2 separate regions of the Homo sapiens genome follow, and region 2 is linked to region 1. The links are contacts of gene promoters, found by promoter capture Hi-C in human tissues and cell types (Jung and others, 2019). All regions are on one chromosome and are shown on one strand. The core of a region is centred on a gene start or on the middle of the fragment in contact, and the rest is flanking DNA. Distances in the headings are between cores, read along the strand shown.

Evidence for each region. Contacts are between HindIII fragments. The study calls those that stand out against the background at their distance.
Region 2: a fragment that was not itself captured here is called in contact with the fragment with the promoter of REEP1 in region 1 in 2 of the 25 tissues and cell types used here (dorsolateral prefrontal cortex and spleen).

Annotation. Positions count from the first base shown.
Region 1 is chr2:86,335,958-86,339,077 of GRCh38, forward strand. It overlaps REEP1 (receptor accessory protein 1), which reads right to left and starts at 1,669. Exons shown (of 9, transcript NM_001371279.1): 1 at 1,522-1,669. The coding sequence starts at 1,553. The HindIII fragment of the contact is 14,274 bases long and covers 1-3,120 here.
Region 2 is chr2:86,632,612-86,635,487 of GRCh38, forward strand. The region is part of intron 2 of RNF103-CHMP3 (RNF103-CHMP3 readthrough); the gene reads right to left. Among named protein-coding and RNA genes, the nearest start is that of RNF103, 10 kb to the left of the region's middle. RefSeq lists an enhancer at 201-724. The HindIII fragment of the contact is 3,155 bases long and covers 1-2,876 here.

The DNA.
Region 1 (3,120 bases), core at 419-2,918:
TCAGATGCCCTCACTCCCAGCCCAGCAGGACCTACAGAGAGCCCACCAGCCAGGCCAGCTCAACTCTCCAGCCCCACCCTGAGGGCTTCCCAGAAGCCACTGGCAATATCGATCCCAGAGAGGAAACACCACCCTGAAGGCAAGACAGTGTTGGTCAGGCATGAGGCTGGGCAAGGCGTGTCAGCCACTTTCCTGTATTATTCATGTCGGCTCTGCCAGCAGAAATCTTCTAAATATTTAACATGCCACCTCAAGGTGCAGCGCAAACACCCCGCAGTCAGGAACAGCTGTGGAGAGGCCTTCACGGAATGACTTGGGGGCTGAGAGGCACAGACACTGGCTTTGGGAGGAAAGCCCTGAATGGTGGCGGGAGACAATGCTGAGATCCACTTCGGAAGGGAAAATCAGTAAAGAAGGGAAGGGAGATGGGTGGTGTTTCAAAACGTGGGGAGTGATGGTGCACAATCACTGGGGTCCAGAGCCCCGTGTTCTCAGACAAAGAAAAAGCCCGAGGTGCCTGCCACCCTCCTCCCCGCCTTAGACTCCCCACACCCATTTCAGCCCCTGCTAGCTACAGCAGGTGGCAAATCTGTTCTGACTCAGGCCAGGATGGTTAGGGAAGAACAGGGACTTGGAACAGCCACGTCTATCTCCAAAGGAGAATAAATCCACCGGGGAAGCTCTTCAAACGCCTACAGGTCCTGGGGCTTGAAGGAGAAAATCGGCCCCCACGCCCACCCCCAATGACTTCACACAGACCTCACCCTAGATGACTCTGCGCTCTCCTGCAAGGCCTGGGAGGTGTCATCGCCACCATGCGGGTGGCTGTCACTTGAAAATTTCCCGTGCATTCCTGGAGGTACCTGCCCCTGTCTCTCAATCCCCTGCAAAAGGAGTCGGAGCCGGGGGCTCCAGGCGTTTACTCCAAGATTCACATGCGTCTTCCCATGTCCCAGCTGCCTTTGCCGCTGTCGATGCAGACACCTAAAAAGGAGGATTTTTCCAACCCCACTGGGAGCCCCGCCTCTGCCTCTCCACCCGTTCCGCGCTGACCCTCCAGGCAGCGCCCCTGGTTCGTCTGCGCTGTCCTTTCCACCTGACAAAAGCTGGGGCGGCGGGGCGCGGCGCCGGGCGACCTCACATTTCTGCCAAAGGAGAGAGACGCGTGTCCGCGGTGCGCCCATTCGGGGCCTCTGCAAATCGACCGAGCTGAGGAACAAAGCGGCCAGCGCGCGGCGAGACGCAGCCCCCACGGAACCCCCGAGCGCCCCAGCCCTCGCCGTCCCGGCCCAGCCCCCCGCAAGCGGCCGCCGGCGCCGGCTGCCTCCTGGGCAGCAGCCGCGTCCTGCGCCGCCCGTCCGCCCGCAGGCGTCCTCGGCGGCTACTGTACCTGCTAAATTTAGCTGCGCCGGGTATTAATAGCCCGAGCCACTGGGACCGGGCGCTGTAGGGGCGCGCGCAGCCCGGGGCCGGGGGCGGGGAGGGAGGGGACGGAGGGGCGCGGGGGAGAAGGCCACTTACACCACCAGCCTGGAGATGATCCATGACACCATGGCGGGCAGGCGGGCGGGCGAGGCCCGGGCGGCGCGGCTCGGCTAGGCTGCGGGCGGCGCGGGCTGCTGCGGCGTTCCCGGAACGTCAGTCAGCTCACGGCAGCCGCCGCCAGACTGAGCGCGCCCGCCGCCCTGCCCGGCGTTCGCGCGTTGGCGCAGCCGCGGCACGTTCTGGCGGCGGCGGCGGCGGCCCCAGCCCCCCGGGGCTCGGCGGGCCCGCAGCGATTGGGCGGTGAGCTGGTCAGGGCACCCGCGGGCCCGCCCCGTCCCGCTCGCCCTGGCCCCCGGCTGAAGGCGGGCGCGTCCTGCGCGCTCCCCGGGGCACCGGCCCCGCCAAAGGAACCCTGCAGCGGCCCCGTTTGCAGGGCAGGGACCCGGGTGCTGCCCCACCCTCAGCGTTCCAGCGGAGAAACTGAAGTCCGAACCTGAACCTCGGGAATCTGTCTGCACCTGTCTAGGTGGGATGCTGTCATCCCTCATTCAGCTAGTGCGTTAGCCTCATAAAGGGTTTACCTGGATCCAGACCTAACCTCTTCAGTCTGTCCGTTGCTCAGCACTTTCTGCATAAGAAACAAACCTGGGCGCTTGCCTCCCTACTTAAAATTCTACAGAGTCCCTATATGATCGTGGTACCTGCCTAGAACCGTGTTGCCAAGACCATTCCCCCAAATAGTCCTCTAGCTCTTTTCCCTCCAGGCATCTTGGACTCAAATATTTGCTGTTTCTTCTTCCCTGTCAGTACACGCCACGCCTCATCGTCCTGCCTTGGTTTGATTCAGCTCCTTCTTCTAGGCTGGGCTGAAGGGCTACTTCTTCCTAGGGAAGGCCTTTCCTTGGGGGCTGCTCCGGGCCCTAGGAGGAGACTAGAAGCTGCGACTGCTTAGCACCAGTGCCCCGCTGAGCCACGTTGAACTCTTAGGCAAAAGGGAACTTGTGCACCCTATATAAACGTTTTTATGTATTTTTTAAAATACCGTATTAAATATTATGGTGGTTTTTTTTGTTGTTGTTGTTTTTTTATGAGACAGAGTCTCGCTCTGGGGTGCAGTGGCGCGATCTCGGCTCACTGCAAGCTCCGCCTCCCGGGTTCAAGCGATTCTTCTGCCTCAGCCTCATGAGTAGCTGAGATTACAGGAGTGCGCCACCACGCCCAGCTAATTTTTGTATTTTTAGTAGAGACGGGGTTTCACCATGTTGTCCAGGCTGGTCTCAAACTCCTGACCTCGTGATCCGCCCGCCTTGGCCTCCCAAAGTGCTGGGATTACAGGAGTGAGCCACCTATTATGTATTTTAGTTGCTGAATTTTATGGCACCTCTTAAATGTTGCACCCTCACTGAGCGCCTCACTCTGCTCACCCTAGTCCCGGCCGCAGATAGTACATTATTCTGTTACACTGGAAACGCTTTGTCCTCTACTCCTAGGCTCTGCTGCTGCTTTTCCCACCCTCCAATAGCTTAGGTTCTGCGTGGTGCTCCCAGCGCCCTGTCCTTTGCTGATGATGGTGTCATGTATAATTCAGTGTCAGATGTGAGAAGCGCAGGAGACAGCTTAGTACTCTCAGATGTA
Region 2 (2,876 bases), core at 134-2,633, 300 kb after region 1:
TCCCAGTTATTAGGGAGGCTGAGGCACAAGAATCGCTTGAACCCGGGAGGCAGAGGTTGCAGTGACCCAAGATCGTGCCACTGCACTCTAGCCTGGGCAACAGAACAAAACTCTGTCTCAAAAAAAAAAAGAAAAAAGAAAAAAGAAAAGAAGAAATTATATCAACGGTTGGCAGCTTCCTCTGCAGAAAACAGTCACCAGTGCTATCTTCTGCCAACACCAGTAACAGCAGGCAGTAGGACTCCCTGAATAAACATTTTGAAGGCAAAGGTAAAGAAGGGTGGAATAAGCAAATAAGAAGTCACCATTCCTCCTGGAGTAAACCATTCCCTCCTCTGATTGCCTGAAGCTAACCATGAGACAGCAGGACTGGCTACATAATTTTCCAGCCTAGTACAAAATGAAAATGCAGGCCCTTGTTCAAAAGGCTAGGAAGAAAAAGTGCCATTAAAAGTGCTGAAATACAAAGCTTTTCCTTTCTTTCACCATCTATCTTGACCTGTCGGTCATGATGTGCTTTTAAAATTTGCTCTTTAATATAGTTCGCCTTTGGGCAGGGGATACTCCCAGGGCAAGTGTGAGTCCTCACAGGCTCCGGGGTCCCCCTCCCTCCAGCCACAGGCCAATGCTTGGTGCCGGGCCAACCTGCAGCAGATGGTTGGCCCTGAAGGGATTGAAACCTCAGTGCCAGGACAAGCTCAGTGCCTGGATTGGGGGTGGGGCAGAGGCGAGTTGCCCCCTAACAGTTGTGGTGCTGCCAGGCCCTGCTGCAAAGAGACCCTGGATGCCCAGCCTCAAGTCTCCCCGGGTGCAACTCCAGGTCCCTATTGAAAGCAGAGGATGACAGCAGAATGTTACCCCCCAACCCCCACCTCTGCCAGACACAACATAGTTGCCATCCCAGTTAAAGGCAGGCAGGGGCCACAGTGGGGAGAGCAGATGTGGAGAGGGGGTGGCTGGGCAGGGTCCCAGGAACCAGGCAATGGAGAACAGGCTGCCAAGGACCTATTCTCAGGGAGGTGGGGAGCTGGCAGCAGGCAGAACCGCATGTAAGCTAATGGCACGTGCTTCAATGTCCATTGGACTTCACTTGCAAAACACAAATTCAAAGATTAAATTATTAAGAATTCAAGACACAAATTCAAAGATTAAATTATTAAGAATATCAAGCAACTGCAGAGCATTAAACTCCAAGCATGCAGGGCTCTTCTGAACCTGGGGCCATGTGCAGCTGCACTGTTCCCATACCCATGAAATCCGTCCTCTGCAACCAAATTATTGAAATCAGTGAAGGTCCAGAAAATGTGTGTTCAGAAACGTATTTGTAGCATTTCTCATATGCTGCCTTGTACATAGTCTTATTTCTATACTACCCTCTTTCCTTCCTGCATGCCATCTGCATGGCCTAGCTCCTGTGCTTTCAGGCTAATCTCTAGCATGTTAGAGCTCCCCTCTCTAACCCTGATCTGTAAAATGGAAACAATAATGATGATCTCATAAAAGTGTTGTGAGGACCAAATGAAGTAAAGCTTAGAAGCCATTTAGCCCAGAGCCTGGCACATGTTTGTTTGTTTGTTTTTGTTTTTGAGATGGAGTCTCGCTTTGTCACCCAGGCTGGAGTGCAGTGGCGTGATCTCAACTCACTACAACCTCCGCCTCCCGAGTTCAAGCTATTCTCCTACCTCAGCCTCCTGAGTAGCTGGGACTACAGACGTGCCCCACCATGCCCAGCTAATTTTTCTATTTTTAGTAGAGATGGGGTTTCACCATGTTGGTCAGGCTGGTCTCAAACTCCTGACCTTGTGATCTGCCTGCCTCGGCCTCCCAAAGTGCTGGGATTATAGCGTAAGCCACCGCGCCCGTCCAAGGCATATGTTTTATACATGCAAACACACACACACACACACACACACACACACACACGTGCCCACATACACTGATAGGAATGCATCTCTGCTATGACACATAGGGACAGTACCAGAGTACACAGAAGACACTTAATAAGTCTATTTTTAGACAAAAGAACACAGGGTGAACATGTTTTAAGTGTCAATCTGGCTAATGTATATTTTAAATGAAATGTAGTGCAAATGGAAGTCTGTTAAGTTACAGAGAGACTAGAAAAGGATTTTTCAAAAATTAAAGTCATTATGGTAGAGTAATTCTGAAAGTAAGCTCAATTTAATTAAGCACATGGCAAAAATAAAGTCTTAAAAAGCTTGATAAATATAATTTTAGTATGAAAATTAGGTCTTCTAAGGAAAGATGAAGAAAATTGGAATTGGTTAGCATGAAGAAAAGAAAGAGAAAGAGAACTTCAAGATAGCGAAATTGCTCTCAATTAAAAGGGGGAGATTAAAGTGTACATTTTGTGGACTGGGGTGGTGGCTAACGCCTGTAATCCCAGCACTTTGGGAGGCCGAGGAGGATTACTTGAGCCCAGGAGTTTGAAACCAGCCTAGCCAACATGATGAAACCCTGTCTCTACTAACAACACAAAAATTAGCCCGGTGTGGTAGTGCACACCTGTAGTCCCAGCTACTAGGGAGGCTGAGACATGAGAATCGCTTGAACCCTGGAGGTGGAGGTCGCAGTGAGCCGAGACTGTGCCACTGCACTCCAGCCTAGGCGACACAGCAAGGCTCTGTCTTAAAAAAATAATAAACAGTAGATTCTGAAACAGCTTTCCTTGCATGTCTAAAATAAAAGTATTGCATGTAAAAAAATAAATAAAATAAAGTGTACATTTTGTTACAAAAGTAATTCATATTTATTATAGAAGCATTAAAAAATACACATAAGCAAAAAGAAGAAAATGTAAAATAGGCATAATCCCACCACTCTCATATAGCAAACAAGTTCATATAAACTGAATA